Regions from separate parts of the Homo sapiens genome. Here regions 2, 3, 4, 5, 6 and 7 are each linked to region 1. The links are contacts of gene promoters, found by promoter capture Hi-C in blood cells and fetal thymus (Javierre and others, 2016). All regions are on one chromosome and are shown on one strand. The core of a region is centred on a gene start or on the middle of the fragment in contact, and the rest is flanking DNA. Distances in the headings are between cores, read along the strand shown.

What was found. The method cuts DNA at HindIII sites, captures the fragments that hold promoters and counts their contacts. A CHiCAGO score of 5 or more calls a contact.
Region 2: a fragment that was not itself captured here is called in contact with the fragment with the promoter of DAD1 in region 1 in 9 of 17 cell types (total B cells, naive B cells, naive CD8 T cells and 6 more); the score reaches 11.3 in total B cells.
Region 3: the fragment with the promoter of PRMT5 here is called in contact with the fragment with the promoter of DAD1 in region 1 in 3 of 17 cell types (naive B cells, total B cells and naive CD4 T cells); the score reaches 10.4 in naive B cells.
Region 4: a fragment that was not itself captured here is called in contact with the fragment with the promoter of DAD1 in region 1 in 2 of 17 cell types (naive CD4 T cells and total B cells); the score reaches 5.5 in naive CD4 T cells.
Region 5: a fragment that was not itself captured here is called in contact with the fragment with the promoter of DAD1 in region 1 in 2 of 17 cell types (total B cells and naive B cells); the score reaches 7.0 in total B cells.
Region 6: a fragment that was not itself captured here is called in contact with the fragment with the promoter of DAD1 in region 1 in 17 of 17 cell types (total B cells, naive B cells, erythroblasts and 14 more); the score reaches 24.1 in total B cells.
Region 7: a fragment that was not itself captured here is called in contact with the fragment with the promoter of DAD1 in region 1 in 17 of 17 cell types (naive B cells, total B cells, erythroblasts and 14 more); the score reaches 22.9 in naive B cells.

What each region holds. Positions count from the first base shown.
Region 1 is chr14:22,587,974-22,591,184 of GRCh38, forward strand. DAD1 (defender against cell death 1) reads right to left here and starts at 1,251. Exons shown (of 3, transcript NM_001344.4): 1 at 974-1,251. The coding sequence starts at 1,184. RefSeq lists enhancers at 248-889, 890-1,531. The HindIII fragment of the contact is 712 bases long and covers 817-1,528 here.
Region 2 is chr14:22,986,178-22,989,362 of GRCh38, forward strand. C14orf93 (chromosome 14 open reading frame 93) reads right to left here. Exons shown (of 7, transcript NM_021944.4): 6 at 1,726-1,838; 7 at 1-1,457. The coding sequence ends at 1,038. The region is part of intron 1 of AJUBA-DT (AJUBA divergent transcript); the gene reads left to right. Among named protein-coding and RNA genes, the nearest start is that of AJUBA-DT, 3.4 kb to the left of the region's middle. RefSeq lists a silencer at 554-663. The HindIII fragment of the contact is 3,625 bases long and covers 1-3,137 here.
Region 3 is chr14:22,927,531-22,930,699 of GRCh38, forward strand. It overlaps PRMT5 (protein arginine methyltransferase 5), which reads right to left and starts at 1,846. Exons shown (of 17, transcript NM_006109.5): 1 at 1,722-1,846; 2 at 967-1,085; 3 at 596-681; 4 at 1-130. The coding sequence starts at 1,831. PRMT5-DT (PRMT5 divergent transcript) reads left to right here and starts at 2,079. Exons shown (of 3, transcript NR_110002.1): 1 at 2,079-2,222. It overlaps TRR-ACG1-3 (tRNA-Arg (anticodon ACG) 1-3), which reads left to right and starts at 2,171; the gene lies at 2,171-2,243. RefSeq lists an enhancer at 1,690-1,799 and a silencer at 2,210-2,299. The HindIII fragment of the contact is 19,261 bases long and covers 654-3,169 here.
Region 4 is chr14:23,022,532-23,025,693 of GRCh38, forward strand. No RefSeq gene overlaps it. Among named protein-coding and RNA genes, the nearest start is that of PSMB5, 11 kb to the right of the region's middle. RefSeq lists an enhancer at 2,586-2,675. The HindIII fragment of the contact is 3,160 bases long and covers 1-2,877 here.
Region 5 is chr14:22,960,794-22,963,929 of GRCh38, forward strand. No RefSeq gene overlaps it. Among named protein-coding and RNA genes, the nearest start is that of HAUS4, 5.3 kb to the left of the region's middle. The HindIII fragment of the contact is 5,455 bases long and covers 1-3,136 here.
Region 6 is chr14:22,856,306-22,859,567 of GRCh38, forward strand. No RefSeq gene overlaps it. Among named protein-coding and RNA genes, the nearest start is that of LRP10, 14 kb to the right of the region's middle. The HindIII fragment of the contact is 4,412 bases long and covers 1-3,262 here.
Region 7 is chr14:22,910,171-22,913,292 of GRCh38, forward strand. It overlaps RBM23 (RNA binding motif protein 23), which reads right to left. Exons shown (of 14, transcript NM_001077351.2): 2 at 1,158-1,233. The coding sequence starts at 1,223. Among named protein-coding and RNA genes, the nearest start is that of RBM23, 7.4 kb to the right of the region's middle. The HindIII fragment of the contact is 1,288 bases long and covers 1,006-2,293 here.

The sequences.
Region 1 (3,211 bases), core at 1-2,500:
GATCTGCCTACCTCGGCCTCCCAAAGTACTGGGATTACAGGCATGAGCCACTGTGCCAGGCCTCCAGACAATTCCAATGCTGTATTTTGTCTGTACCCCAACTAGACCATAAACTCTTTACGGATAAAGAACATGTGCCAAAGCTTTTACCATAATGCCTCATATTGGACTGAAAATACAACTGATGACCTGACTGATGATCACACTGAAAAGAAACCATGAATGCTGGCATGTTTTCAAAGTCAAAGTAGCAGGTGATACCAGTGATAGAGGCCACGCCTGTTTTCAGTATTCACTGAATCCCCGTTGGGCAAGAAAAGTCAGATTTTAACAAAAATTGATGGAGACTGTTCTCGCTAAATATAGCAGTCTACAAGGTTACCAAATCCTGGAATCAAAAGGAAAAATAAGGCTAAAATAGAGTTATGTGAACAAAAATTGGGTTCAGGACAGTGAAATAACAGCTTCCTCAACAAGAAAAAAAGTAGTAGCAGCTAAAAGGCAAAATCAAGTAAAGGATGATTCAACAAGAAAAGCACCAGTATTTATATTCTTTGCACTTTCATTGAAACGTTTCACCGGAGATTGGTAATGATTAGGCCAAGATGACAGAGATGATTCAAGGTTGGGTTTTTCATTTGAAAAGTCTACTAATTTTAGAGTTGTGTTAAACCTAAGTTAAAGTTGGAATAGGGTTTTCCCCGGACCAATATTAAGTGAAGTGGATCACCAAGTGGAGTAGCGGCACGAAGGTGGTTTCTTTAGACTTTTAAGTCCAACTCCTACGGAGCCGTTTGGTATTAGGCATATAATCTAAGCTTTCTGAGCCTCAATTTCCCCATTCACAACAAAAGGGCAATGCAGGCTCTTCTCATAACTTCAAGGGGCGGTGGTCTGATATAGAGTACTATGAAAACAAAAGCAGCACACCAAAGTAACACATTATTATTATGATCACTTATAGAACCATTACCCGCTAGGATGAAACTCCCCACACAAGAGATGAAGCCCGAGAGAAAAGAGTTGAAGGGGAAGGTCCCCACGAGGAGACAGTAACCGAACTGCAGCGCCCCGGTCAGCAGTATATACAGCAGGTACGCGTCCAGCAACTTCAGACGCTGCGGAGTGGAGCTCAAGTACTCTTCTAAGAACCGCGAAATGACAGACACTACCGACGCCGACATAACTGCACGCAAGGTACTCCGGTCCGCGCCCCAAACTCTTGGAGGACCCGTCGACCACACCGGATGTGCTGTTTGCGCATGCGCACCCTCGTGACCTAACTCCGCCCTCCCCGGTGTGCCAATTTGCGCAGGCGCTGAGGCCGGCCAGGGCGCGTAACAACTAATGCGCAGACGCGGACTGCATCAACAGACTCAACTACAACTCAGAAAAGTTAATGCGTCTGCGCAATGGCCCTATCAATGAGCTGGGGACGTGTACTCTTTCTGTTCTGTTTCCGCCCGTCAGCTCGGTGACGCCCACAGTTGCTCTGGCAACAAGACACACTGGGAGGAAGAGGGGAATAAGCTTTACTGGGGACCGCGTAGCTAACCAGAGGTATCCGGCTCTCTCTGGTCCTTCTGAGTCCTGGAAGATTTAACGGTTTGCATCTACTTTGAGGCAATGCCTGGCGTTCCTGGGGTTTGATACCAGCCTGACCCTAATTCTGTTAAGGGCGCTGTCTGCAGATGTCTGTCACAGATCATTGGAACAAGTCAAGTTCATCCGCAGTGAGACCCGGCGCGGCCAATCACTGCACAGGCCCCAGTTTAGACTTAATTACTTGGGGGAGTGAGTGGGTGTGGTGAGGGGCGGGAGGCAGGGAGGAAGCCTGACCTCAGCAGGGTTCTGAACTGGAACTCGGGATCTGGCCCTGCAATGCCAACATTTATTGGGCGCCTCCTTGGGGCCTGACGTTGTACTAACTTGTAGGGACTCTCACGTGAATCAGATATATTTGCAGCCTTAAAAGAGCTGGTGAAGGGAGGGACAGCTGTCGAATGTCGTGCAAAAAGCATATGGTCAAGTTTAGCAGCTCTCTTTCCGCAAGCTGGTATCTTGAACCTGGTGTAATATCCCGGGATGTCAGCGTCGAAAGGCCCGAAAGAGCATGCCTGGTTCAACCCTACTCTCTCCAACTCATTTTGCAGAAGAAACTGAAATGGTTTCAGGTTTTGTATTTTAACAAGTGGGATTATTTTGAGGGTTTTAACTGTTTTTTTTTTTTTTTTTGAGACGGAGCCTTGCTCTGTCGGCCAGGCTGGAGTGCAGTGTCGCGATCTCGGCCCACTGCAACCTCCGCCTCCCTAGTAGCTGGGACTACAGGCACGCGCCACCACGCCCGGCTAATTTTTGTATTTTCAGTAGAGACGGAGTTTCACCATTGTTAGCCAGGCTGGTCCCGAACTCCTGACCTTGTGATCCGCCAGCCTCGGCCTCCCAAAGTGCTGGGATTACAGGCATGAGCCACTGCACCCGGCCTGTTTTAACTTTTTTTAAGAAATTAAGTTCTGGCTTTCGTTGCCCTTTTAATTTCACGTGAATCCGACCTTCTAGACCCAGTTCATCTCACCTTTTAGCTGTAAGTTTTTCCACACATGACCAGGTACTTTATTTTCAGCTTCTTAATATTTTGAACTGTACGTGAGCAAAATTCCTAAAACAGCAGGTGAACAACAGCGTTCCTGCCTTTTCACTTTTTTTTTTTTTTTTTTTTGAGATGAAGTTTTGCTCTTGTCACCCAGGCTGGAGTGCAGTGAATGGTGCGATCTCGGCTCACTGCAACCTCCACCTCCTGGGTTCAAGCCATTCTCCTGCCTCAGCCTCCCGAGTAGCTGGGATTAGAGGCACCTGCCACCACGCCCGGCTAATTTTTGTATTTTTAGTAGAAACGGGGTTTCGCCATGTTGGCCAAGCTGATCTTGAACTCCTGACCTCAGGTGATCTGCCTGCTTCAGCCTCCCAAAGTGCTGGGATTATAGGAGTGAGCCACTGCGCCGGCCCCTTTTCACTTTTTATTTGCCTTTAGACTGGAAACTCTACACGCATTAACTAACGGATGTATTATCAGTGGTGATCAAAGCCTTACTTAAGTTCTAGAAAGAAGAGAAATAACCTAAGAAACCTTTAGAGTCTATTTGAATAGATAGATTTATATTCATACCCGTGGAGATTTGTGCAGCTATATGAACATAAGTTCAGCCTAAAC
Region 2 (3,185 bases), core at 75-2,574, 400 kb after region 1:
AGACATTACACCCTCTCAGAAGAAGCCTTTCCAGACTGCAAGAGTAGGTTAGCTACCCCTGCTGTATATTGCCATAGTGCACTACACTCCACCATGGTCACCCTTATCACAGTTCATTTCATTGCCTACTCCACTGCCTGGCTTCCTGACTAAACTAAAAAAATCTCTGAACAGCATCCAACCTTATCAACAATGTATCCATAGCACAGTACCTGACACCTAGTAAAGCGATCAATGTTTGTTATAAGACTGAATAAATGTAAAGCCATTTTTGCTTTTCAATCCATCCAAAATGCACACCCCTTCCTCAAAATACAGCTTGGCTGACAGGACCAAGAAACAGCTACAAAGCTGTGTATTTTGCTTGGTCACATAGTGAGAGAGAGGCTGCCGGTGAGACACGGGAACTCTTTAAGCCTTAATTTCCTCATCTGTAAGATAGGAATAGTAAAATTTTCCTCATGTAATTCAATAAACAATAGCTATTATATCAGGAACCCAATTCCCCAATAGTGATAGAACTTGTGTTCCCTTGGTCAGAAGACTCAAGCTCATGACTGAAACTGCCCACCAGGTGGCGGTATTAACCTGCACTGGTCATGTTCGGTTTCCACTGCAGAGCAAGACAAGTAGTCACAGGGAAGCAAAAGGTACAACCTGGGCTGCTTCCTCAGAGCTTTGGGTGGAACTGGGCAGGGGCAGAAACAACTCAGAGACAGGGCATATGTCAAGAAGGCCTCATGTTTCTTGGACCCATCCTCCTCATTTTCTCATCCCAGGCTTCTCCGAGATACTGTTTATGCTGAGGAATAAGCATATTCTGGCTTACTGTTCACAGTGGAGGGAGTTTCTCCCCTTCTAGATAAGTTTTTATCCCACCAGTGTTCTGCTTCCCCAGTAGAGACTGTGTTAAGAAAAGAGGCAAATTTGCTTTCTCAGACTGCACAGAGCATCTCATTATTTTGTGAAGCCCCATGGCCACCTATTTCTGAGACATGGGGCATGGCGGAAGCCAGAGTTATTCTTGGCTGTAGATTTTATTCATCCTTTTCCACCTTGATTTCAATGAATGAGTTCAAGTCAGGACAGCAGGTTTTGTGGGGTTGGTCAAAAGATGGGGAGCCAGGTGCATTCTCATCCCCTCCCTCATCTTCCTCTTCTTGGAAATTAGGATTGTAAAGTTCTGGTGGAAGGAGCTGGGCTTCAGCAGAAGGCAGTCTGTCTGAGGGAGGCCCATACACACGGTTGGCTTTGGTGCCATGCTTAGAGTTAGCATCCAGGTGGTAGCAGAGCTCTGTGAGGCGCTGGGCCCGGAAACGGGGAGGGCGGGCCACCCACACACCTGGCTCGTTAAGACTGTCCTCTTCATCTGACATCAGTTCCTCTGTCACATCATTCCACAGACGTTGGTCCTCAGGTCCAAAATGCCTCATGATACTGGATCGGTTGGCAAAAAGCTAAGGCAGGAACCCAGGAGATAGATTAGGAAGGTAAACATTCTATGGATTAGATTTGGGGAAAAGGTTTGGTGGGGAAGGCTGTGTAAAATCTGTGCCTAAGTGAACCCAGTCCCCAAGTCAGATCTTAGCATTGGCTCACTGTTCTTCTCTATCTTCCTACATTCCTGGCTCTCAACCCTATTCTCATATGCCATGTCCTCTGGCCCTTCCCACTTAGGAAAGGGTTTAGAGTTTAGTATCTTGAAAGAAAGGCCTAGAAACCTACCCGATATCGGCGACTTCGAAGTTTCTTCTCCTCTTTTTCCTTCAGGCCTTTAAAGGGGTTCAGGGAGTTGCGGTACTCACGCCTCTTAGTAAGGAAGTAGGCCACACAGGCTCCTGGCGGGGAGGGAAGGAAGGGAGCAAGAAGGAGGGTCCTCTGAGTAGTGGTCCCCAGCCCGTTTTTCTGCCCTAACACTATTGAATGGGAGGTTGGCGATCACTACTTAGATGAGGGCTTTTTTTTTTTTTTTTGAGATGTAGTTTCACTCTTGTTGCCCAGGCTGGAGTGCAATGGCACAATCTCGGCTTACCACAACCTCCGCCTCCTGGGTTCAAGCGATTCTCCTGCCTCAGCCTCCCGAGTAGCTGGGATTACAGGCATGTGCCACCACATCCAGCTCTTTTTAGTAGAGATGGGGTTTCTCCATGTTGGTCAGGCTGGTCTCAAACTACTGACCTCAGGTGATCCACCTGCCTTGGCCTCCCAAAGAGCTGGGATTACAGGCGTGAGCAGCCGTGCCTGGCCTAGATGCTGGGCTTTCTTGGCATAGGCATTAGCATCTTCACTCCTCTTTGGTTAGGATTCTTTTTATTTATTTATTTTATTATGATTTTGTTATGAGACAGGGTCTCGCTCTGTCACCCAGGCTTGAGGGCAGTGGCATGGTCATGCATGCTCACTGCAGCCTCCAACTCCTGGGCTTAAGTGATCGTCCAGCCTCAGCCTCCTGAGCAGCTGGGACTACAGGTGCACATCACCATGGCCGGCTAATTGGTTTAGCTTTCTTTGCCCACCTCCATCTCCAACACTAACTCCTCCCAAATATCTCCCACTGGAAAAAGACAACTCCAATCGCTTCTGTGTCTCCCCGCTCCCTCCACCAAATAAAACCTACCCCTTCTTGGGCGTGGTGGCTCACACCTGTAATCCCAACATTCTGGGAGGCCTCCTGCTGAGGCAGGAGGATTGCTTGAGCCCAGGAGTTTGAGACCAGCCTGGGCAACATAGTGAGACTCAGTCTCTATTTAAAAAAAAATTTAAAAACAACAACAATCTACCCCTATTGCCACTCTGATGGAAGATTACAAGTATTTTTTTATTTTTCGTTGAAACAAGGTTTGCCCACAGTGGAGTTCAGTGACACGATCTTGGCTCAATGCAACCTCCACCTCGCAGGCTCAAGCAATCCTCCCACCTCAGCCTCCCAAGTAGCTGGGACTACGTCATGCATGCCACCCCACCCAGTTAATTTTTGTTATTTTTGTTTGTTTTTGGTAAAGATTGGGTTTCGCCATGTTGCCCATGCTAGTCTCGAACTCCTGGACTGAAATAATCCTCCTGCCCTGGCTTCCCAAAGTGCTAGGATTACAGGGATGAGCCACGTTACCTGGCTCTACAAGTACTTTTTCAGCAGAAGCTTTCATAATACTTCAGGGTTAGCTACAAATAACAAAAGAGAGCAA
Region 3 (3,169 bases), core at 596-3,095, 340 kb after region 1:
AAGAGTGATGGCCAGTGTGGATGTGGTTGGTCAAAACTCTGGCCAGGTTGGTGTTATCTTCCTGATTAAGGGGCAGCAGGAAAGCTGGAAGACCCAAATATGCACCAAAATTCAGCTCCTGTAACATGGCCTGGAACGGAGATGAAGAGGAAAAGTTTGAGCTAACAAGCAAACAGCTTTTTTTTTTTTTTTTTTGAGACAAAGTCTCACTCTGTCACCCAGGCTGGAGTGCAGTGGCACAGTCTCCACTCACTGCAGCCTTGACCTTCCCAAGCTCAACTGATCCTCCCTCCTCAGCCTCCTGAGTAGCTGGGACCACAGGCATGCACCACCATGCCTGGCTAATTTTTGTATATTTTATAGAGATGGGGTTTCACTACGCTGCCCAGGCTGGTCTCGAAATCCCGAGCTCCAGTGATCCTACAGCCTCAGCCTCCCAAAGTGCTAGGATTATAGGTGTGCACCACAGCACCCAGCCTAATAGCTTTAATTTCATTCTATCAGTTAATTTACCAAGTTATTGGGGATGGGAGGGGACCACTCTCCCCACCCAGCTTGGTTAGAAAAATCCAGCAGAGAAGTCAAACAGTCTTACCGCCTCGGAGTTCCTGCGAATCTTCTCCACTTTTGAGTCTGGACGAATCCATGGAGAAAGCTTTCCCACAATTAGCGTATTCCAGTCTGCACTCCCCCACCCAAGAAAGACAAATACTGAATAAGGTTCAGCACTTTACTTGTTCAATTTTTAGTTTTGGGAATCAAGAGTAGAAATGAGAGACAAAGGTTTTTTCTACATAGACATGGGATAGCCTGATGCAGAATAGAGAAGCAAGGAGAAAACAAGTTATCTATATCCCAGGGACTAACAAATATATCCAAGTCAGAAAAGGAGGAGAATGAGGGCCCCGATAAAGCAGAAGTTGTTATTGCCTCTAATAATTAAGGGGCATATGGGATGGTCCCTACCCCTTCCTGACAGCAGTAGGTCTGATCGTGTCTGGGGACCGGGCCGATTCTTAGCAGGTTCCTGAATGAACTCCCTCTTGAAACGCGGATGGAAGACAGGCATGCAGAGGAAATCAAACCTACAACCGCGACAGACCCAGAATCATGTAAAGACAGCAGCAGTGCCAGAGAGCCAAGCAACTGGATTTAGGCTATCTTGATTTTGCACAGCCCTTTCAGCTGCCATCAGTTCAGCCTACTAGGCTGCTGAGTTCAGACCACCTTGGGGGATATCAACTCTGCTGTACTGTGCCTCAATTTCTCCCTAAAACACAGCCATGGGACATATGAGTAAGGAGAAAATGATGGATATCCACAAGTAGAATTTTTTTCTCCTCAGGTGTCAGTATGTTTCCAAGACCATCACATCCAGATTTGCCCCAGTTCTGCCCATGCCTCCCCCGTCAAAATTAGCCTCTTCTCTCCCTTGCCCCCTAACACCTCCTCCCACTCCCAGACAATAATCGCGACCTCCAGGGCCCTTTAGAGTTTACCCAACAACTCTCCCAACTTTGGGACTCAGTGACCACAGGCCTCCCACAAGTTATTTTCCTCACGTTACTGGGTCCGAGGCTCCTCCCCTCCAAAGAGTAATAGTCTCTCCCCTCCTCATCCTAGCCGACCCCCTCACCCCTGCTTCTCCGGGATGACTAGTCTGCCCTTCTCCGTCCCCGAGTTCGGACCCCGCATTCCGCTCGTGGAGGTCCGGCCCTCACCCCTGCTTGGCCACAGCCCCTAGTGTGTCAGCTATTTCGGGGACGCAATTCAGGTCCCTCCCGCTGGACACGCGGCTCCCACCAGCACCCCCGACCGCCATCGCCGCCATCTTTCTCCTCGCGCTGTCCACGCCGGGATTCCTTGATACTAGTAGCCAATCACAAAGTCAAACTAGTGCCCCAGAAGGCGGGACGAGTCGCCTTAACAACCAGAGCGTCTGCCACAGCTCCCGAACAGGAGGGATGGGGAGTGGCTTTTCCTGCCAATCCGCGGGCTGCACAGTGGCGTACGGCATGGATCCACCAATCTCAGGGTCTGGTTCCTGACGAACTTCAATCTCCCAGAATGCTTAGTCTATCTGAAGAACGCCGTTGAGAGACTACACCGCCCATGAAACCCTGCAGTATAACCTTGAAGTACCATCACGGAGAGAAACAGTGCCATCTCAGGGCCAGTGGCGCAATGGATAACGCGTCTGACTACGGATCAGAAGATTCCAGGTTCGACTCCTGGCTGGCTCGGTGGGGTTCCTCGCAGCTTCGCTGCGTGAGCATTTTGTAATTTTCCTTTCCTTTCGCAGCTTGATGCTTCTTTATTATCTTCACGCTTTCATTATCAGATCCTGAGTCGGTTGGGTTATGCAGCCATGTAATGTCAGCTTTTCCCGTAACTACCCTCAAAAGTGTTTTTCTTGTGTCATTATTTACGTCCATATGAACACTGAGAAAACTGGGTTAATGGCTGGTGCTATTAAAATGAGCTTTGTCACCTTACTATGTTACATATTAAAATAAACTGCTAACTCAGCTACTACTTCCTAGTGATTCTAGGAAGTAGTGTTTTGTGTTTCAAACACAAAAGGTGTAAATAAACGCCTAAACACACACACACACCTCAAGATAGAGAAAAGGAATTCATTAATTACAGTGGGCAGCAGTCATGAAATTGGCTGGCATGGAGGCCAGAGAGAATCTACATTTTCTCATGTCATTAGCTGCTAGAGATGGAAAGGAAGGAAGCAAGGAAAGACATAGGGAGGTAAATGGGAACTCCAGAAGGCAGGGGGCCCACTGGTGTTGAGGGCTCGGCAGCAAGGATGGAGAGGAGAACACGGTACAAGAGACCCCACGCAGGCGCCGCTGGCAGAACTTAGGGACCGACTGGCAAGGAGTCCTGAGAAAGCAAAGTAGGGGGTGATGCCTAGGATTCTGTCCATGCAGTGAGCAAGAAATGCGGAAAGAGGGTTTGGGAAATCAGGGTTTGGGTTTGGTCATGCTGAATTGAACGTCTAGGGGGCGCTGTGTAATAGAAAGTTGGATGGAGGTCGCTAGAAGAAAAGAACTGAGGCCATGCGACTGAGATCACCATAGCTCGTTGGGGACAGAGCCATAGGAAATACGAAAAGGGTGTGGGGTAGGATAAGTTCTGGGGAACCCTGGGTGCAATG
Region 4 (3,162 bases), core at 48-2,547, 430 kb after region 1:
CTCTTGCCCACTATAATTAAAGCATTCCCAGTATGATTCTGGCTTCCTGAAGGGAAACTAGAATTTATAAAAACAAACAAGAAACAAACGCAAAACAGCAGAGGTGCTTGGTTGCAATATATGTATATTTTAAATTATAGAGCACTGCTCTATACTCCATACAGTTTCAAAGTCCGTATCTGTTATAGCCCTGGGAGCAGGTCAGGGGAAGATCTAACAAAAGAAACAAAAATAAAAGAAAATTAAAAACCTAAATGTATCCACCGAAAATTAGATATGGTCATGTAGATTCTCTCCTAACCCAATCATCCTATCCTTGTTACTCCTGACACAAGGGAAATGCTCCCCTCAAAATTTCCATCCACCTTTTTTTTTCTACTTTATTCTCTTTTCATCCCACCTCTTTCTTCCTTCCCCTAACAGACCACATAGAATCCGTGGGCCAGAATAAATCAGTTATTTTATTTCCCCTCGGAGGATGTGACCTTCCACTCCCCAAATGGCTCTGACAGTTTTCTCATTTGCTAGCTGAGGAGGATATCAAGAGACACTGACCTTCTGGTTTTGCCTAAAGAGGAACACTCAGTAACTATTATCCTTCAGTCTTTGATTTGCGTTAACTGTGCCCTTCCTCCCTCCTCCCCCACATCCTCACCTACCTTTTCACCTTCCTTCATGAACATTCTACTCACCCCACAGTGCACTGCTACTCCCCACAGCCCTCCCTTGCCTGGTGTGCAGATGCTGGAAGGCTAGCAAGAGAAAGCAAGGGGCCTCCAGGAGTATTTGCTCCCTATTTAATCAGATTAGTCCCATCACCTACCCCGAGGAGCCAGATTTTGGTGTTACTGAGTTATCTGTTGAGGGAAGAGAAGTTGTCAGACATCACTTAAAGAGCCCAGTCCCTTGGACGCCTGGGAACTGCTGAGAGAAATTAATCTTCCAGCTATTTAAGGCGATTTCTTTTCCATCATCCTTTGTCAAGAGGACTGTACTGGGAAATGAATCTGATGGGAGTCCCTGAACTGGTACACTCCACTCAAAAACATCTCTCCAATCCTATGCGGCATCCATCATTCCCACACAAGCGGAGACACACATCGCTGCAAAGCCAATTTCCCCCCAGTAACCATCAGCAAGAAATCACAAATGCACAGGGTGGATACCACTAGCCTACAGACTTGCAGTTTTTCCCTACCTCTGCTCTACTTTCTTCCCAGAAAAACCTACCACAAATCGAGCTCTTCCATTAAATGAGTCTTTTACCCAAGACCCAGGAAGGTAGATCAACAGGGATATGCCAGAACAGAACATGCATTTTCTCTTCTAACATAAGGACTCTGCCAGTGCAGAATAGGTGTTTCCGTTAAACAGCTAAACCACTGCCAAAGCAAAGTGTGAGACAGAAACAGGGCAAAGGGTTGCATTGTTTCACGATCATCTCTTCTCTCCAGAATGAATTTTCTGTTCATGGACCAAAGCTGGGGTCTTATGCTCTCTGGGGTCATGTAAGGAAATTCCAATCTTCAATTCTCTTTCTATCCTTAAGGCTATTTCCCAGGGAAGAGGTGTTCAAATTGTGTTCCTTGAGGTTCCAAGAAGTGCCAGGGACTGTGTATGTGTATGGGGCTAACAAAGGGTGCTGCGGGGAGTGGCTGGATGGGGAAGCTCAATAGTGGAGGCTCTGGACCTCTCAGCTCAATTTCAACCTCTGATTTTTTTTTCAGGCATTGGGATTTCTCCTAAGAGTGCTTTTTTTTTTTTCTTTTTTTTTTTTAAGATCTGCAAACCAATGTCCTAAGTGGGAGGAAGATGACCTACCTGTGCTTCTCACGCAGCTAACCATTTCCCAACAGTCTACGAGAAGGAAGATGTAGCTTGGGTCCTGCCTATTTCTTTCTTTCTTTTTTTTTTTAGATGGAGTTTTGCTTTTGTTGCCCAGGCTGGAGTGCAATGGCACCATCTCGGCTCACTGCAACCTCTGCCTCAGCCTCCCAAGTAGCTGGGATTACAGGTGCCTGCCACCACACCCAGCTAATTTTTCGTATTTTTAGTAGAGACAGGTTTCACCATGTTGGCCAGACTGGTCTCAAACTCCTGGCATCAAGTGATCTGCCTGCCTCCGTCTCCCAAAGTGCTGGTGCTGGGATTACAAGCCTGAGCCACTGTGCCCCGCCCAGCTCCTGCCTATTTCAACCATGTAGTCTGAGTCCACACCAGCAGCTCCCTGACTGCAGGGGCTCCTGAGATACTTTCCTGCAAAAAATTTCCTTAGGCACGAGTCATTTGTTTTCCAAACCCCCTTCTCCGATTTCACTAATTCCCAATTTCCCTGCATTTGACAAATGCAATTAACAAGCCTCGATCAGTTCCTGGCCGACAGCCCTCATCAATCAATACGAAGACTGCACAAGGCTGAGGGGGAAGGGAAGGTAGCTGCAGTACAGGAGAGGAGGGTTTACCCCCTCTTCTTCTGTGAATGACTTCTCCAAACCTCTCAGTCTCAAAACATGACACTGGGTTGTCACCTTCACCAACCACTTTCTGCCTTCTGACTAAATACAAGGTGGTATTGTTTGTGTCCTCCGCTCCCATTTTTTAAAGGTTTCTCCCATCAACCTCCTCTATCCCCTGTCTTCTCTTTAACAGAAGGCCTTGCCATCTGCTGCCACCATAGCTTGGGAACTCCCCCCAGCCCCAACAGTGCTGGGTGTGATAAATCAGCCATCTCTCTGCTCTCAGCAGGGCCTCTTCCCCACCCACACATTCCAGTGACAATTTAGTGCTGCTTCCTGACCAGGAGGCTATAAAATCACCATCACTACCCTCTCCCCTCCACACATATGCACTGGAGGACCAAAAGGACAAGGGTCACCAAGCTTGTGGTTACTACTGCTTTCACAGCCACTTCTTTGTCCTCCCCTTCCCAGGGTCCAAGCCTTCCCTTCCCAGTTGGTTTAAGAGTCAAGATTTACCCTCTTCACCCTTCCGCTCTGCATGTAGCCTCAGCCTCCCTTCCCCCACCACAGGGTGACAGCCTTTTCCGCTGGAGCCCTGCCTGGTACAGCCCTGTGCATCTTTCCACCTCATCAACTTTTCATCTCTTTGTAAACCAAATCGAGAAGTGTCTCCCTCCTCCCTGCCTCTCTCTCCTTCTCCGTT
Region 5 (3,136 bases), core at 273-2,772, 370 kb after region 1:
TTTTTTGCCAGAATTTTAAAAAACAGCTTCATTGAGGTATTTTGGCACACAGTATTTAAAGTGTACAATTCAATACATTTTGATATAACTATATATGTGTGAAACCATCACCAAGATCAAGATAGTGAACATATGTATCACACTCTAAAAGTTTACCTGTGCCCGTACGTAATTCTTTTCTCTAGCTTCTCCCTGCCCTACTCAACCATCAACTCTGTTTTCTGTCACTATAGAATAGTTTGGACTTTCTAGAATCTTATGTAAATTGAATCAAATAAAGATGTACTCTCTATGTTGGGGTCTCACTATGTTGCCCAGGCTGGTCTCGAACTCTTGGGCTCCAGTGATCCTCCCACCTTGGTCTCCCAAAGTGCTGGGATTACAGGCATGAGCTACCACGCCCGACCAATTCATTTTTAAGTTAATGTCATTTTATTGCTGATAAATATGAAATCCTATTTAAAACCTTAATTTGGGCCGGGTGCGGTGGCTCACGCCTGTAATCCCAGCACTTTGGGAGGCCGAGGTGGGCGGATCACGAGGTCAGCAGTTCGAGACCAGCCTGACCAACATGGTGAAACTCTGTCTCTACTAAAAATACAAAAATTAGCCGGGAGTGGTGGCAGGTGCCCTGTAATCCCAGCTACTCAGGAGACTGAGGCAAGAGAATCGCTTGGACCTGGGAGGCAGAGGTTGCAGTGAGCCGAGATCGTGCCATTGCACTCCAGCCTGGGCAACAGAGCAAGACTCTGTCTCAAAAAAACAAAAACAAAAAACAAAAACAAAACCTTAATTTGTTTGGGTTTATATTTAAGGAGGTGCTTCTAACAGCCCCAGGGTACCTATCTCCATACTTAATTGTTGGTTCCGAGTTCCAGTGAGGCACTTATTTGTTGAAAAACGAATTTTCGGCCACAACCACACTACAAATACCTTACATCGCTTTGTTTATTCCATGGAATGCTTGGCTTTTATAGGCCTGTCCTTTCATTAGTGTTGTTCATCTCACCTTCTGTTATGCCATATGCAAAATACAATCATTCACTTCTTAAATGCTCTTTAATGATAAAGCCAAGAACATACTCAAGTATTCCTGAGCTAGACTCCTGTAAGGGTGGGAGGTCAGGGTGTAGGAAGATAAATTAGACATAACTCCTGCCCTCAATCCAACTCTACCGTTTCAGACATTGCTGTTGACCTGGTCTTCTAAAAACTATTCATGTATGTTTTTAATTTAGTGATAAATGTAAATGAGAGTCTGAGAAAAAGTCTACATAACCTTTCAGACTTGGACATTCTTTTGCTGCATTGTTTAGAATTGCAGAGAATGGAGATTTGTAAGAACATTGCAGGCACTTTGCCTCCCACACTAAGGCCGGGAAACAAAAATTCCAGAGAGAAATTCCAGGTGAGTATTTAGTACTGTGAGTACTAGTACTGAGTATTTTAGTACTAGTATTTAGTATTTAGTACTGTGAGTACTGTGAGTATTTATGATACCAATAGAAATCTTTGAGTAGAATATGTTCTCACTAAAAATATGGGCTTCAATAACCAGTTGCAAAGCTAAGACATTAAAATAGCATTGGAACTTGGAATCACTGTTGTTGTTTTTTTTTGGAGACAGGGTGTCTCTCTGTCTCGCAGAGGTATGATCACAGCTCACTGCAGCCTTGACCTCCCAGGCTCGGGTGATCCTCCCACCTCAGCCTCCTAAGTAGCTGGAATTCCAGGCACATGCCACCAAGACCAGTTACTTTTTTGTCTTTAGTAGAGACAGTATCTTGCTATGTTTTCCAGGCTGGTCTTGAACTCCTGGGCTCAAGTGATCTACTTGCCTTGGCCTCCTAAAGTGTTGGGATTACGCGTATGAGCCACCGTGACTGGCTGGAATCATATTTAACTGATCAATAATTTAGAAAAACTTGAAAAATAAGCCATATCACTTTGAAAGTATTTGAATACATTCTGATATTATATGGACTGAGAAACTAGTTTCAGAAATAAAAAATTTTACATGCAGTCAAGAGATTTTAGATTTATTTTCAAGATTGTTCACTGGAAAATGAAGGTATTCAGAGCTACAACTATTGATGATTAAGCTAGAAAATTTCATGCCTACTGTAAGCACATAATTTAAGAAGAAAACAAGTGGATAAAAAAATATGTAATCAACCTATGACATCAAATGAAAATTTTAGAACAAATGTTCATAATGTGCCATTTTTTCAATTGCTTAACACCTCCAAGGGGATTTCAAAGCTAGGCCCTTGAGGCTTCAAGGGTTGCCTGTCTGTTCACAGAAATTTCTGTTATACAAACTAGAATGAGCCTGGTTTTACTTTGAGACACTATTGTGAACTAGTATATGAAGTAGGCCTGATAGAAAATTTTAGAGCTCAAAGAAAAGCTAAGAAATTTGGCTCAAAAATGGGACAGATTGAAACCATTTTTAAAGGAATATGAGACTATAAAGGAAACTGATTCAGGAGGGGAAGACCAGTATCATTTTGAAAAGCTAGACATGAAGCACAAGGTGGGCAATTCTTGTTATAATGATTGAGTATGCTGCTATAACTTGAAAGCGTGTGCCAGGGTGATAAAAGTATTTCCCTGGATTTTAATTAATTAATTTAGAGACAGGGTCTCACTGTCACCCAGGCTGAAGTGCAGTGGCACCGGTTTCAGTCACCCAGGCTGCAGTGCATGGGTCACTGCAGCCTCAAACTCCTTAGCTCAAGGGATCCTCCCTTCTCAGCCTCCCAAGTAGCTGGGACTACAGGCATGCACCACCATGCCCCAGTAGTTTTTTAAATTTTTTGTAGAGACAGGGTCTCACTATGTTGCTGGGCTGGTCTCGAACTTCTGGCCTCAAGCCATCTTCTTGAGCCTCAGCCTCCCGAAGTCCTGGCACTACAGACATGAGCCACTGCATCCAGCTTTCCTTGGATTTTTGTTTGTTTGTTTGTTTTTTGAGACAGAGTCTCGCTCTGTCGCCCAGGCTGGAGTGCAGTGGTGCGATTTCGGCTCACTGCAAGCTCCGCCTCCCAGGTTCACACCATTCTCCTGCCTCAGCCTCCTGAGTAGCTGGGACTACAGGCACCCGCCACCACACCCGGCTAATTTTTTGTATTTT
Region 6 (3,262 bases), core at 304-2,803, 270 kb after region 1:
AGTGGTTCTCAGGAAGAAGAGCATTCCAAGCAAAAGCAGAAGTAAATGCCAAGACTGAGGTGAGTACATGGCTCCCATATTCATGTCTTAGTGAACAAGGTAGTGTGGCTGGAACAGAATGATCAAGGAAGACAGCAATAGAAGAGGAGATCAGACAGGTCATGGGGTGACATCCCATAAAACCCTGTAAGTCATTGTAAAGACTTTGGCTCATACTCTAACTGAAAGGAAGGAAGACTGCAGTGGCGTAAAGGAAGGACGTGGTATTTTAGTACAGTGTAAATACTCATTATTATTATATATTATTATAAATACTCATTATTATTATATATTAAATAAATATTTTTTTATTTATTTTTCTTTTGAGATAGAGTCTTGCTCTGTCACCCAGGCTGGGAGTGCAGTGGCGTGATCTCCACTCACTGCAATCTCCGACTCCCGGGTTCAAACAATTCTGCCTCAGCCTCTAGAGTAGCTGGAACTACAGGCACATGCCACCACACCAGGCTAATTTTTGACCATGTTGGCCAGGCTAGTCTTGAACTCCTGACCTCAGGTGATCCACCTGCCTCAGCCTCCCAAAGTGCTGGGATAACAGGTGTGAGCCACCCTGCCTGGCCAGTGACTTGTTTCTAATGGAGTCTGGCAGCAGTGACAGTGTGTGACTTCCAAGAATAATAAGCAATAAAAGACATTATAAAAATCTAAAATCTAAAATCAAAAATATGTTTTGCTGTCTTTTGGATCACTCATTTTGAAGAAAGCTAGCTGCCATGCTGCAGGACACTCAAGAAGTCTTATAGAGAGGTCCACAGGTAAGGAACTGAGGCCTCCTGCCAACAGCCAGCATGAACTTGCCAGGCATATGAGTGAGCCATCTTGGAGGCAGATCCTCCAGCCACGGTCAAACCTTCAGATGATTACTGTCCTGGCCAACATTTGGACTGCAACCTAATGAGAGATCCTAAGCCAGGTTCATCTAGGTAAGTCACTTTCAAATTCCTGGCCAATATAAAATGATTACAACAATAAATGTTTATTTTATATTTTAAGCTGTGAAATTTTGGGATGATTTCTCATTCAGCAATAGATAACTAATAGGTTTGGGTACTAAAAGTGGAGTGCTGCTGTGACAAACAACTAAAATGTAAGAATGACTTTGAAATTCGGCAAAGGGCAGAAGCTGGAAAGACTTTGAGAAGAGTGTTAGTGAAAGTCTAAAATGCCTGGACGCGACAGTTAGTAGAACCACAGTGGCCTCTTTTTTTTTTTTTTTAAAGACAGGGTCTTGCTATGTTGCCCAGGCTGATTTCAAATTCCTGGCCTCAACTGATCCTAAGTCACTGAGATTATAGGCACAAGCCACCATACCCAGACATGATGGTCTTTGAAGAGGCGGCCAGTGAAGACTTAAGGAAAGTGAGGAAAATGTGTTTTAAAACTGGAAGAGGCCGGGCGCGGTGGCTCACGCCTCTAATCCCAGCACTTTGGGAGGCCGAAGCAGGCGGATCACGAGGTCAGGAGATTGAGACCATCCTGGCTAACACAGTGAAACCCCATCTCTACTAAAAATACAAAAAATTAGCCAGGTCTGGTGGTGGGCACCTGTAGTCCCAGTTACTCGGGAGGCTGAGGCAGGAGAATGGCATGAACCCGGGAGGCGGAGCTTGCAGTGAGCTGAGATCGTGCCACTGCACTCCAGCCTGGGCAACAGAGCAAGACTCCATCTCAAAAAAAAAAAAAAAAAAGAAAGAAAAAAAGAAACTGGAAGAAAAAGGATTCTCGTTATTCAGCAAGTTTAGCAACTATAGTTAGTGTGTAGTAACATGGAAAGTAAAAAATGTAATTAATGAATGGGAAATCTAGCTAAGGAGATTTTCAGGGAGAATGTTGAAGTTAACACCTGGTTTCTTCTTTGCTGCTTATAGTAAAGTGCGAGATAGATAGCTAAGAAAAAAAAATACCACTTAAAAAGAGCCAGGAGGCCGGGCATGGTGGCTCACGCTTGTAATCCAGGCACTTTGGGAGGCCAAGGCGAGCAGATCACAAGGTCAAGAGATCAAGACCATCCTAGCCAACATGGTAAAACCCCGTTTCTACTAAAAATACAAAAATTAGCTGGGCATGGTGGCGCTCACCTGTAGTCCCAACTCTCGGGAGGCTGAGGCGGGAGAATCACTTGAACCCAGGAGGCGGAGGTTGTAGTGAGCCGAGATCTCGCCATCGCACTCCAGCCTGGCGACAGAGCAAGACTCCGTCTCAAAAGAAAAACAAAAAGAGAGCCAGGAATTTTTGGATTTTAAAATTCTCAGCCTCTCCAGACAGTAAATGATGTTAAATTTTTTAAATAGCTTCTGGGCAAGTATCAAATTCAGGGCACTCTCAGGAAAACATGGTATAAAGACAAAGCCAAGATTGAGTGTAACATGCTTTGTTAATATCAGAAGGATCTAAGGTGGTACTCAGGAAACCATTTAGTCTAACAATATGGTTTTTGGGGTTTTTGGTTTTTGGTTTTGGTTTTGGTTTTTTTTGAGACAGAGTCTCACTCTGTCACCCAGGCTGGAGTGCAGTGGCATGATCTTAGCTCACTGCAACCTCCGCCTCCTGGGTCCAAACAATTCTCCTGCCTCGGCCTCCCGAGTAGCTGGGACTACAGGAACGTACCACCATGTCTGGCTAATTTTTGTATTTTTAGTACAGACAGGGTTTCACCATGTTGGCCAGGCTGTTTCAAACTCCTGACCTCATGTGATCTACCCACCTCGGCCTCCCAAAGTGCTGGGATTACAGGTATGAGCCACAGCACCCAGCCTAACGATATAGTTTTTAAGAATCTTAAGAGCCAGGCATGGTGGGTCACACCTGTAATCCCAGAACTCTAGAAGGTCGAGGTGGGAGGATTGCTTAAGGCCAGGAGTTCAAGACCAGCCTGGACAACATAGCATGGTCCCATCCTACAAAAAAATTTTTAAAATTAGTGGGCATGGGCCTGGTGCGGTGGCTCCCAGCACTTTGGGAGTCCAAGGCAGGCGGATCACAAGGTCAGGAGTTCATGACCAGCCTGGCCAATATAGTGAAACACTGTCTCTACTAAAAATACAAAAAAATTAGCCGGGCGTGGTGGCACATGCCTGTAATCCCAGCTACTCGGAAGGCTAAGGCAGGAGAATTGCTTGAACCCAGGTGGTGGAGGTTACAGTGAGCCAAGATCACGCCACTGCACTACAGCCTGGGCAAGAGAGTGAGACTCCGTCTCAAA
Region 7 (3,122 bases), core at 400-2,899, 320 kb after region 1:
AAAAAAAGAGGCTGGGCGCAGTGGCTCACACCTATAATCCCAGCACTTTGGGAGGCCAAGGCAGGCGGGTCACCTGAGGTCAGGAGTTCCAGACCAGCCTGACCAACATGGAGAAACCATCTCCACTAAAAAGACAAAATTAGCCAGGGGTGGTGGCACATGCCTGTAATCCCAGCTACTTGGGAGGCAGGAGAATCGCCTGAACCCGGAGGCAGAGGTTGTGGTGAGCTGAGAACGCGCCACTGCACTCCAGCCTGGGCAATGAGTGAAACTTCATCTCAAAAAAAAAAAAAAAAAAAAAAAAAGAAAGGAAAAAAGAAAGCGGTGGGGGGGAAAGGAAGGGAGAAGGAGGGAGGGATGGGAGGAGAGGGCAGAGGGAGGGAAAAGCAAGCAAGCAAGCAAGCAAATTGCTGTTAAGTGGGCCAGGTGCAGTGGCTCACTCCTGTAATCCCAGCACTTTGGGAGGCCAAGGCAGATCGCTTGAGCCTGGGAGCTCGAGACCAGCCCAGGCAACATAGCAAGACCCTGTCTCTATAAAAAATATATTAAAAAAGAAACTGGGACGGGCGCAGTGGCTCACGCCTGTAATCCCATTACTTTGGAAGGCCAAGGTGGGTGGATCATAAGGTCAGGAGATCAAGACCATCCTGGCCAACATGGTGAAACCCCGTCTCTACTAAAAATACAAAAATTAGCTGGGCATGGTGGTGCTTGCCTATAATCCTAGCTACTTGGGACGCTGAGGCATGAGAATGGCTTGAACCCAGGAGGCGGAGGTTGCAGTGAGCCAAGATTGTGCCACTGCACTCCAGCCTGGCAACAGAGCGAGACTCTGTCTCAAAAGAAAAAAAAAAGAAATTGGTGCTAGGTCTGAGGTACAGTGACTTTCTACTGTGTCACTTCGAGTTTTGAGCAAAGCACAGATTACCAACACCACATTATGTGCCCACTCCGGTTTCTGAGGTTGTCTCTAAAAGTATGGCTCTTAACCATAGTCTCCAGCAAAGCTTACTAAGACTATGCCTTTTATGATTAGTTATTCTACATAATAAATAAGCAGGGAAAGAGGATTCATAAAATGTTGAAAGTTGAAAGTGATGATCGACAACTACTCTTTCTCATTAACCCAATTCCAGGAGTGAGGTGGAAAATATTACCTCTTCTTTTTTATAGGGAGCTTCCAGCATGGCCTCAATCACTATGTCAAAGTCATCAGATGCCATCCTGTCAGATCTGGGGAGAGGATATTAATATGTAAGAATCTGTTTTATATTTTTCCTCCCTTTCCAGCACCACACATTTCTTTCCCACTCCAAGAAAGAGACTTCAGGATATACAGATTTCAGTTCTGTTTCTTGAACTGCAAAGAAACCTTACCAGCTGTCACTTACTCTAGGTTTATTTTTACACCCTATAGATCTGAACTAGTTCGACTTTGTGGCTTGGAACAGTCAAGGATAGTCCGGGCGCAGTGGCTCACACCTGTAATCCTAGCACTCTGGGAGGGCAAGGCAGGCAGATCACCTGAGGTCAGGAGTTTGAGACCAGCCTGGCCAACATGGCGAAACCCCCTCTACCAAAAATATAAAAATTAGCTGGGTGTGGTGGCACACACCTGTAATCCCAGCTACTCAGGAGGCTGAGGCAGGAGAATCACTTGAACCCAAAAGGTGGAGGTTGCAGTGAGCCAAGATCACGCCACTGTACTCCAGCCTGGGCAGCAATGTGTGACCCTGTCTCAAAAACAAAACAAACAAACAAAAAACACAAAAAACAATACATAAAAAAATAGTCAAGGATATAGAAGAAAACTGAGTATCTAGGAAGAAACAAAATACAACACTGATCCTGTTCTATGAAGAGAAAATGATGGTGGCCAAACTACTGTTCACTATAAAATAGACATTAGGTCTCCACTCTACTGTTCAAAATTCTGAATAAATACCTGGTTTAAACTCAAATAATAAAAACAGGCCTGGCTGCTACAGATGTGAGAAAAATATAAAACGAAAAAATAATAAACAAATATAGGCACATTATGTCCAATAAAAAGATAAAGAGGCACGACTAAAAATCAGAAGCAAGTCAAAGCAACACCAAAATGCAGATTTGCCCTAACGTCTTCCTCTCCGCATACCCTGAACACCAATAATTAGGGCCTTATCCCTGAGCATTTTCTAACCAATACCAACTACAGTTTAGGTAACTCAGAAATATGATGATTAAGACAGGCTCGACTAATCCCATCTTGAAACCTTTCTCTCTGGCAGGCAAGGTAAAACGTGCCTCCCCAAGCTTTCACATCTAGAAACTGCCTCTCCCCAGGCTGTCTACCACCAGTTTGTCAAATAAGAAAAACAGAAAATACCAAAGAAAACCAATAGGATAAATTATTCAAATGTTATTGGTCTGGAATTATCAACCCACACATGGATGAATCTCAAAATAATTACACGGAGTGACAGAAACCAGCCCCCCCCACAAAAAGTACACAATGAACAATTCCATTTACATAAAATTCTAAAAAATGCAAACTAGGCCAGGCGCGGTGGCTCATGCCTGTAATCCCAGCACTTTGGGAGGCCGAGGCGGGCAGATCACGAGGTCAACGACGAGGTCAACATATCGAGACCATCTAGGCCAACATGGTGAAACCCCGTCTCTACTAAAAATACAAAAATTAGCTGGACGTGGTGGCACGCGCCTGTAGGCCCAGCTACTCGGGAGGCTGAGGCAGGAGTATCACTTGAACCCAGGAGGCGGAGGTTGCAGTTAGCCAAGATTGTGCCACTGCACTCCAACCTGGAGACAGAGTGAGATTCAGTCTCAAAAAAAAAAAAAAAAAAAAAAAAAAAGCAAACTAATCACTATATCAAAGAAAGCAGAAAGCACATCAATGGTTGCCTAGGGATAGAAGTAAGGGGAAGGGCTGGGAGAAAAAGATTTTAAAAGGGCACAAGAAGGCCGGGCGCGGTGGCTCATGCTTGTAATCCCAGCACTTTGGGAGGCCGAGGCGGGCGGATCACGAGGTCAGGAGATCGAGACCATCCTGGCTAACACAGTGAAACCCTGTCTCTACTAAAAATACAAAATATTAGCCGGGCGTGGTGGCGGGTGCTTGT